3 separate regions of the Homo sapiens genome follow, and regions 2 and 3 are each linked to region 1. Evidence: promoter capture Hi-C in 16 types of primary human blood cells and fetal thymus (Javierre and others, 2016). All regions are on one chromosome and are shown on one strand. Each heading gives the region's core, a stretch centred on a gene start or on the middle of the fragment in contact. The rest is flanking DNA. Distances are from core to core; before and after follow the strand shown.

Region 1 (2,991 bases), core at 444-2,943:
ACTTTCAATAAATAGGGCAGGATAAATTATCTGTATTTAAGTTAAAAGTGAATATAAACACTCAAACTGTACACAAAAATCAATTGCAATGCTCTTATAAATATAAAATAAATGGTAAAAAATAAAGTTTCTAGAAGATAACCTGGGAGAGTATCTTTATGATCTTGGAGTAGACTAACTTTCTTAGAAGGGATGCAAAAATCTCTAACCACAAAGGAGAAGACTGATAAACTGGACTATGTCAAAGTTAGAATGGTTGTTCATCAAAAGGCACTATCAATGAGCAAAGAAGCAAGCCACAGATTGAAGGAAGACATTTGCAATACATATATCCAACAAAAGGTTTATATTCAGGGTTTAAAATAACTACAAAACAGGAAAAGAAAGACTGAAAGTTAAGAGAAAAATGAGGAAATATTTGAACAGAGATTGCACATAAAAAGGATATCTACATCACCAATTAGACTATGAAAAAATGCTCATTCTCAAATTCACCAGAGACATACAAATTAAAACCACATTGAGATAATTCTAGCAGAACGGCCAGATTTTACTAGATGACAATACCAATATCAGCAAGAATTTTAGAACAATGATAACTCTCATACATTGGTTGGTGGGTGTGGTGGGAATTGGCACAACCACTTTGGAAAATAATTTGGTAATACTTCCTAAACTGAATATATGCATACCTTATGAGCCAGGACTTCCACTCCCAGATATATACCCAACAGAATTATGTGCGCATATGCCCCAATAAATGTATACAAGAATGTTCATAGCAGCACTATTTGTTTTAGCACCAAAAGTAGGTAAAGATTCTGTGTTCCCTTTGAAGTTCTCCTCTTAATCTCTATTCACCCCTGTAACCCCTGTATGGTTTTCTTGCCTCAGGGTGCAGTGGGTCAGATGTGACATAATATACCTAAGGTGATGTGCATTTGTAGATATAAAATTAAATGCCCCCTTAGGAAGACCAAGGTATGGGCCCAGAGAGAAAGGGTGAGAAAATATTTGAAAGAAAGAAACTGGCACTCCTCGTGGCAGCTAATGTCTTAGGAACCTCTGTTGACCAGTATACCAGGATGGAAACTTGACTTTTAGAAAATCATAAGAGCTATACATTCACCTGGTAATTTTTTAAAAAATCAAACGGTACAGAAATACATAAAATAAATTGTGTTCTTCCCACCTATTGCTCCTCAAACATAATCAATATTTTTGTGTGTACTTTCCAGGAAAAGAAGAAAGTATACTTAAAAGAGTTGATGTACACATATATCCTATTTTTTATATTTACCCAATGGGATAATACTACAAAACCAATCTATATCTCACTTTTATTCTCTTCACATCAAACAAGGTGGTCTTCCCTTCTTGGCATGTTCAGATTTACCTTATTCTTTAATGATTGCTTGTCACCATACGGATGAATCAGAATATTCTTAAACAGTCCCCATATCATGGTTTTTTGTTTTGTTTCCAGTGTTTAGGCAATAATGAATGCTACAATAAACGTTCTTATAGTACTCTCTTCAGATACTTCCTTCAGGGTAATTTCCCAATAGCAAAAATGTAGGGTCAAGGGTATTTGATTTTTTAAAACCTTAACTTTTTTTTTTCTTTGATCATCGGGTAGGAAACTGTGATTAGCAGCTGAAGACGGGTACTCCCACTTCCTTTTTTCAATTCACTAATGCATTCTGCTCTTTTTGAGAGCACAGCTTCTCAGATGTGCTCCTTGGAGCTGGTGTGCAGTGTCCTGACTGTAAGATCAAGTCCAAACCTGTTTTGGAATTGAGGAAACTTCTCTTTTGATCTCAGCCCTTGGTGGTCCAGGTCTTCATGCTGCTGTGGGTGATATTACTGGTCCTGGGTGAGTAAAAGGGCTCACCATGGGCCCTGGGTGGGATCGGGACAGCTTCTCTCTCCACCGCAGGCCTGGTCCTTTCTTGGGGCTCAGCCCCTGCTGAGAGACTCTCTCCTACATTAGGAGACTGTATTTTTGAACTTTACTCTGTAGCTCAGGGCTTTCTCTTGAGGCTGAAGAAAATGGCCACAGCTGGAAGGAATTTTCAATCTTACAGAGTAGGAAACCACAATAACCACAACAATTAAAATTTCATTTATTTTTTTCTTTAAAAAGTACTTCTTAAAGTCCAGAGAATGTTTCATGTTTGTTTGTTCATATTGTCTTACTCATAGAAGAGCCCACTCTCCTCTCTGCAGAGGAGATGTATTTATTCCTTGTATGACAAGGCCAGATCCTGGTCCCCAGCATAAGAGGCAAGGTTTCTAACGGGAAAGACAGGTCTTTCTCTTGTACATAATTGCAAACCACTGCAGCAATTGGCTGATTAAGAACATGGGGTGGAGGAGGTCGCAGAGGCGTAGGTGGACAAAGCAAGGATAAATCTAAAGCATATGACTTTCTCTTTGTCCCTGTGGGTGTACGTAAGTCTCTATCAACTCATATGTGCGAACTGGTTGATTTTTACTAAAGGTTAAATATTATAATTAAATATGTTTATTTATTTGTTCAGCAAATGTGTTTAGTAATATCTATGCACAGGTGCTGAGCAATTAGAGTCCATAGGAGACACTACGTCTATGTTCTGGAAAGTCATGACATAGAAGGGCTCCCAGCAAGGCCAATGTACTTTCAAGCAGCTATGCAACAAGCTCCCAGTTAAATAATTGTCCAGGCAAAGTTACCAATGAATGCTGTAGGCAGATAATAAACTGTATTCAAAATAGCTAGTAAAGACTTCATGAAACTTAGAGGTGAGTAGGAGCTAGAGGAGCAGAAATGGAGCAGGCGTGATATAAGAAAAGAGGACCTCACAGTTGGAAGGTGCATGGACTATAATTCCTGAAGTAGGAATACATCTCAGTGTGGCCCCACACAATGTGGGTAATGGCCAGGTCCTGAGCATGAGAGGGCAAAGTTTATAACATGGGCTCTGGGGTCAAACAGGATCTAGGTTCAAA
Region 2 (3,326 bases), core at 85-2,584, 260 kb before region 1:
TTACCAACTTGTTTGCATATAATTGTTCACAATAGTCTCTTATAATCCTTTATCCTTTATAATCTGTGATGTCAGTTGTGATGCTCCCTTTTTATCTCTGATTTTATTATTTGAATTTTCTCTCCTTTTTCTTATTTAGTCTAGCTAGTTTGTCAATTTTGTTTATCTTTTTAAAAGACTGACTCATTTCATTGATCTTTTGTATTGTTTTTCTAGTCTCTATTTCATTTATTTCTGCCACAGTCTTTATTGTTTCCTTCCTTCTACTAACTTTGGGTGGAGTTTGTTCTTGTTTTTCTAGTTCCTTGAGGTGAAACGTTAGGTTACCTATTTTAGATCTTTCTTCTATTTTTGATGTAGGCATTCACTGCTATAAACTTCCCTTTCAGAATTGCTTTTGCTATATTTCACAGATTTTTGTATGTTGTGGTTCCATTTTTATTTGCCTCAATAAATTTTAAAATTTCTCTTTGAATTATTTTTCATTGACTCATTGGTTCTTTGGGAGCATGATGTTCAATTTTCATGTATTTGTGAAGTTTCTGAAGTACCTTGTGTTATTGATTTCAAGTTTTATACCATTGTGGTCAGAAGAGACTTCATATAATTTCAATCTTTTTAAATTTGTTAAGACATTTTGCTTCCTCAAATATGATCTATCCTTGAGAATGTTCCATGTGCAGTTGAGAAAAATGTGAATTCTGCAGATATTGGGTGAAATGTTCTATAAATGTCCATTAGGATTATTTTGTCTAGCGTGTAGTTTAAATCTGATATTTCTTTGTTGATTTTCCATCTGGATGATTTTCCATTGCTGAAAGTGGAGTATTAAAGTCCCCTACTATTATTATATTGCAGTCTATATCTCCTTTTAGATCTAATAATATTTGCTTTATATATTTGGGTGCTCTAGTGTTGGATGTATATATGTTTAAAATTGTTATATCTTCTTGATGAATTCACCCCCTTATCATTATACAATGGCCTTCTTTGTGTCTTTTTATAGTTTTTGACTTAAATTCTATTATATCAGATATAAGCATAACTATTCCTGTTCTCCATTTTCATGGTATTTCTTTTTCATCCTTTTACTTTCTGTTTATGTATGTCCTTACAGGTAGAGTTTCTTGTAGGCAGAATATAGTTGGGTCCTGTTTTTTAAAATCCATTCAGCCACTCTATATTTTTTAATTGAATAATTTAATCTATTTACATTCAAGGTTACTATGGATAGGTACGGACTTAACTCCTGCCATTTTGTTGAGTGTTTTCTAATTGTTTTGTAGATCTTTCATTCCTTTGTTTCTCTCCTGTTGTTTATCTTTGTGTTTTGGTGGATTTTTTGTAGTGCTAGGCTTTGATTCCTTTCTCTCTCCCATTTACGTATCTGCTGTCAGTTTTTTCTTTGTGGTTACCATGAGGCTTATATAAAAAATCTTATAGTTATAATAGAGTACTTTAAGCTGATAACAGCTTAACTTTGGTCTAGACATTTACCATTGCCGCCATTATTTATATTTTTGTTGCCTTATGTTACATATTTTGTATTGTGTATTTCTTAACAACTTATCACAGCTATAGTTATTATTGACCATTTTGACTTTTAACCATCATAGTAGATATTTGAAAGATTTACAAATCACCGTTACAGTAATGAGATTTTCTGAATTTAATGATCAATTTACCTCTATTAGTTAATTGTACACTTTCACATGTTTTCGTGGAGTAATTATTGTCCTTTCACTTCTGGCTGGAACACTCTCTTATGCAGTTACTTTAAGGCTTGTCTAGTGGTCTTGAATTCCATCAGCTTTTGCTTGTGTGGGTGAGAGTTTATCTCTCCTTCATTTCTGAAAGACAGCTTTTCTGTGTATAGTATTCTTGCTGAAAGTTTTCTTCTTTCAGCACTTTGAATATATCATCTTATTCTTTCCTGGCCTGCATGATTTCTGGTGATAGATCTGATGATACTCTTATAGAAATTCTCTTATGTATGACTTGATGTTTTTGCTGTGTTTAGAATTCTCTTTGTATTTGACCTTTAACAATTTGATTATAATGACCTTGGAGAGGACCTCTTCAGGTTAAATCTATTTGGGGATTTTTGAGCTTCATGGATTTGGTTGTTCATATCCATCCCAAGACTTGAGTCGTTTTCAGCTACTATTTTATCAAATATGCTTTCCAAAACCTTCTCTATATCTTTTTCTGCTAGTACTCTAATAATACAAATATTTGCCCACTTAATGGTGTCCCATAAGTCCTGTAGGCTTTCTTCACTTTCGAAAAAAAATTTTCCTCAGCTAACTGGGTTATTTCAAAAGATCTATATTCAAGTTTAGAAATTCTTCTTCTTTATCTGGTTTGCTGTTGAAACTCTCAATTGTAATTTTTATTTCATGCATTTAATTCTTTAGCTCTATGAATTCTGTTTGGATTATTTTCATGATATCTATATGTTTTCAAATTTCCTGTTTAGGTCATAAATTGTTTTCCAGATTTTATTGAACTTTTCATCTGTATTCTCTTATAAGTGAGTTTCCTTAAGATTATAATTTTGAATTTTTTAGGCAATTAATAAATCTCCAGTTAGTTATTGGAAAATTATTTTGTTCTTGTATTGGTGTCATGTTTTCTCGCTTTTTCATGTTTGTTGTGTTCCTGCTTTACCATTTGTGCATCTGGTGGAAGAGTCACCTTTTTCAATTTTATAGAGTGGCTTTTGTAAGAAAAGACTTTCACCTGCAGATTGATCCTAGGGTGCCGATGGATCCTTAGTTTAGGAAGTTTCATTGGTTTGGTTCCAGGTGAGCATAGTAGTGTGGTCTCTGTGTAACTTCTTCAGCAGCAATCAATGTCAGCAATGCTTGTGTGTGCCTCAGTGGCCTAGGCTGTAGGAGTTTGTGAGGGTGGTGGTGGCAAGATAGATTGCTACAGTTCTCAGTGGCAAGAGCTTTAGGGATCTTCCTGTTCTTTTCCTCATAGACCATCATACCTGAGAGGGTGTCTTTTGGTGTTTGGCCCTGGCATGGGTCACAGGCAGGCATGGTAGTACTATGTTCCAGGGCACAGATGCTTGAGGTGGTTGTGGTCCTGCACTCAGTGTCCTGCACACAGTGCCACTACTATGGCATCTGTGCCTGGATGCAGGTTCATTGTCTTAGGTATAGATGGACACAGCTCTTCCACCAAGACAAAGAATGTGACTCTGAAGCACTCCCCAGTATCTCAGGCCCAACAGGCAAGGTTGTACCTGTGACTTTGATCCTGGGGGTCAAGATACAGCACTATCATGGCTCTAAGGATAAAGGGCTTTCCAAAGGCTC
Region 3 (3,488 bases), core at 442-2,941, 310 kb before region 1:
TGGGCAACATGTCTCTCATCATTCAGTAGCTAGCTTGGGCTTGTTCACCTCACAGCAGAGCTTCCCAGAGCAGCAAGAAGGCAAGCCCTAAATGGGAAAATGCTTTTCACAGCTCTGTTTGCAACATGTCCGCTACCATCCTATTGGCCAAAGCAAGTTATTAAGGCAGCCCAGATTCTAGGAGTGAAGAAAAATTCCATCTTTTGAAGGGAGAAGCTGCAAAGATGTTGCACATCATGAAGGAATAGATTTGTTTTTATTTCTGCAATCTATCATGAGTGGCAATTAAAGCTGATGAAAAATTATCTACCACAGTATCTATCTTCTATCTATCTATCTATCTATGTATCATCTACCTACCTACCTACCTATCTATCATCTGTTTGTCAAGCTTAGGGTCAATGCTAGTTTTATATCACATTGTGGAGGAGAACATTAGGGAGAACCAAAATGTTCAATGAGTATTTATTTTGGCATTTGTTGTGGGTGGAGGTGGTGTAATACTCTCCTATATTTTCCTTATAATTAATAAAATATATACTGCTCTCATAAAATTTTAGTTGTGATTTTTATTCTGTGCAGTATTGAGGTTTTGGCACACCTAGAAAAATAAGTACCAGACCAAATGTGCAAGAAAATACATCATAGACCATTTGTGTCGGAAATGCTAAGAGATTGGAAAACTGCCTTTTGCCATATAAGCCTCTAGATTTTTAAGAGGACAAGAATTTTCTAAGAATAGATTGGTAGTAAGGAATTACTTTTAAGAGAGTTTTGTATATGTTATGTCATCTTCCACCCTCTTCTCTCAAACAAAATGATGGAGGTTACAGAAAATCTCTTACAAAGCTGACCGCATTCTTTTTGGAGTTGGGAAGGCCCTGGTACTGGTATCTGACTTACATTTGAAAGGGTCTAAATGTGAGTAACTGGATGAACCCCCCTGTAATAACAGAATGCAAAGATGAAACTGCATCAGGAATAACCTGCTCACTCAGAGTTTGGCAGGAAAGGCGCGTGTTTCCTATGGTTCACTGTGAACCAGACTGGATCATCTTGAAAGTGACCTTGTCCACAAGGATGCAGGATGAGGTGACTTCAGCAGAGGGCATGTTGAGGGGAAGTCCGCTGGCAGTCAAGGGATAAGGGGAATGTTCTAAGTAAGCTGGCTATAGCAGGCTTCATCAATGTCAGGGAATCGCAAGTGAAAGATCCCGGTGGGGAAATCTCTGAAGAAGCCACAAAAATGCTGCCCAAAAGAAAGAAGCAGCAGGTGGACACTGGCCACACAGAGTGTGGCTGTGGACAATGAAGACCTTTCCTATTTCATCTAGGTTATGGAATTTGTTGACATAAAGTTGTTCACAATGATTCCTTATTATCCTTTTTACATCCATAGCTCTGGGCATTCTTACATTAGTATGATAGTGCATTAGTAATTTGTGAATATTTTCTTTTTTGATTTTGCTGGAGATTTATTAATTTTAGTTATCTTTACAAACAATTTTAGATTTACTATTATTTTCTATTGTTGTTTTGCTCTATTTAATTGATACCAACTCTTATCTTTATTGTTACCGTTCTTCTATTATTTTGGGTTTACTTGAATTTTTACTACATTAAGGTAGAATTTTAGATAATAAATTCTAGCAATCTTTTCTGTTTATACATATTTAAAACTGTGAAATTTCCTTTTAGTACCATTTTAGTGGCTTTCCACAAGTTTTTGACACGTGTTTTTAATTTCTAATTCACCTTGGGTTTTTTTCTTTGATCCATGCATTATTAAGAACTGTGGGCCTGGTGAGGTGGCTTACGCCAGTATTCCCAGCACTTTGGGAGGCTGAGGTGGGCGGATCACCTGAGGTCAGGAGTTGAAGACCAGCCTGGCCAACATGGTGAAACCCCATCTCTACTAAAAATACAAAAAATTGGCCGGGTGCAGTGGCTCACACCTGTAATCCCAGCACATTGGGAGGCCGAGGCTGGTGGATCACGAGGTCAGGAGATGGAGACCATCCTGGCTAACATGGTGAAACCCTGTCTCTACTAAAAATACAAAAAAATTAGCCGGGTGTGGTGGTGGGCCCCTGTACTCCCAGCTACTCGGGAGGCTGAGGCAGGAGAATGGCGTGAACCCGGGAGGCGGAGCTTGCAGTGAGCAGAGATCATGCCACTGCACTCCAGACTGGGAGAGAGAGCAAGACTCCGTCTCAAAAACAAACAAACAAACAAACAAACAAAAAACAAAAAATTAGCCGGGCGTGGTTGTGGGCGCCTGTAGTCCCAGCTACTTGGGAGGCTGAGGCAGGAGAATGGCGTGAACCCGGAAGGCGGAGCTTGTAGTGAGCCGAGATCGCGCCACTGCACTCCAGCCTGGGCGACAGAGCGAGACTCTGTCTAAATAAATACATAAATACAAAATTAGCCAGGTGTTGTGGCAGGCACCTGTAATCCCAGCTACTTGGTAGCCTGAGAGGCAGGGAGAATTGCTTGAACCTGGGAGGCGGAGGTTTCCTACAAATCTCCTTTGCAGGAAATTTGGTTAAAATCCTTTGATACTTAATTAACGGACCATAAAATGAATGTGTCTTGAATATATTCTGTATCCACTTGAAATATACATTCTACATTTGCTGAATGTAGTGTTATATAAATATTAAGTAAAGTTAATTGATAGTACTGTTCATTTTCTACATCCTTAGTGATTTTTTGTCTTCCTTTTTTACATGGACTAATTAGTTCTGTGAAGGTAAAATGAAGAAGAATGAAACAACAGAGAGAACAACATGTATTTAGATCATAAAGAGGAATAAAGTGTGTAAATAGACTTCTGTCTCATCACTCCGCTGGAAATGCCAGTTAGCTGAATCCCAGCAGTGGGCACAGGTTAACTTCTTAGCCAAGAAACTCTTAAAACTCTATACAAAATCAGCATCTGAAGGGATGTCCCACCAGCTCTTCAGTTTCAGTGTACCTAAGCAAAGCTTGGCATAAATTTCTACCCTTTATCTGGTCTATCTACTCTATTAAAGTCCCTGTCTGATTACAGTGGGAACTTTCTCCAGTGCCGTATCTCATCACATTCTCCATATAATTGCTACATCTTAGCATAGTCGAAGGCACCTAACAGGTGCTGAATTAATGCTGAATGAATTCATGAAACACTGCCCCCTTACCTGAGTCATTGGCCATGACCCATTCAGACTACTCCCCAGAAGAAACATTCCTGAAATCCTATCTATAGCAAGACCCCGGATAGTTTGACAGTCCTGTGGAAGCAGGCTGATCCCAAGAAGACTGTAATACTGGAAAACAATCATGTCCAGGTGGTAGAGCTAGGACTCCAGGCCTTGCAAAAGATTGGGACTCAAGCAGGAGGAAGTGCACACGGAAGACTTAGGTAGTGACTAGGCATGACTCACGTTCTTCTTTGTCCTCATTCACAATAGGGGTAGCCTCAGAACACCATATTCTGCTGTGCAGTT

What was found. Contacts are between HindIII fragments. The CHiCAGO score rates a contact against its expected background, and 5 or more counts as called.
Region 2: a contact is called between a fragment that was not itself captured here and the fragment with the promoter of FCRL5 in region 1, in 1 of 17 cell types (total B cells). The highest score is 5.7, in total B cells.
Region 3: a fragment that was not itself captured here is called in contact with the fragment with the promoter of FCRL5 in region 1 in 3 of 17 cell types (naive B cells, total B cells and M0 macrophages); the score reaches 6.8 in naive B cells.

What each region holds. Positions count from the first base shown.
Region 1 is chr1:157,551,217-157,554,207 of GRCh38, reverse strand. FCRL5 (Fc receptor like 5) reads left to right here and starts at 1,693. Exons shown (of 17, transcript NM_031281.3): 1 at 1,693-1,876. The coding sequence starts at 1,846. The HindIII fragment of the contact is 25,493 bases long and covers 1-2,991 here.
Region 2 is chr1:157,812,522-157,815,847 of GRCh38, reverse strand. All of the region lies in intron 1 of FCRL1 (Fc receptor like 1), which reads left to right. Among named protein-coding and RNA genes, the nearest start is that of FCRL1, 5.9 kb to the left of the region's middle. The HindIII fragment of the contact is 5,444 bases long and covers 1-3,326 here.
Region 3 is chr1:157,862,553-157,866,040 of GRCh38, reverse strand. No RefSeq gene overlaps it. Among named protein-coding and RNA genes, the nearest start is that of CD5L, 22 kb to the right of the region's middle. The HindIII fragment of the contact is 2,596 bases long and covers 394-2,989 here.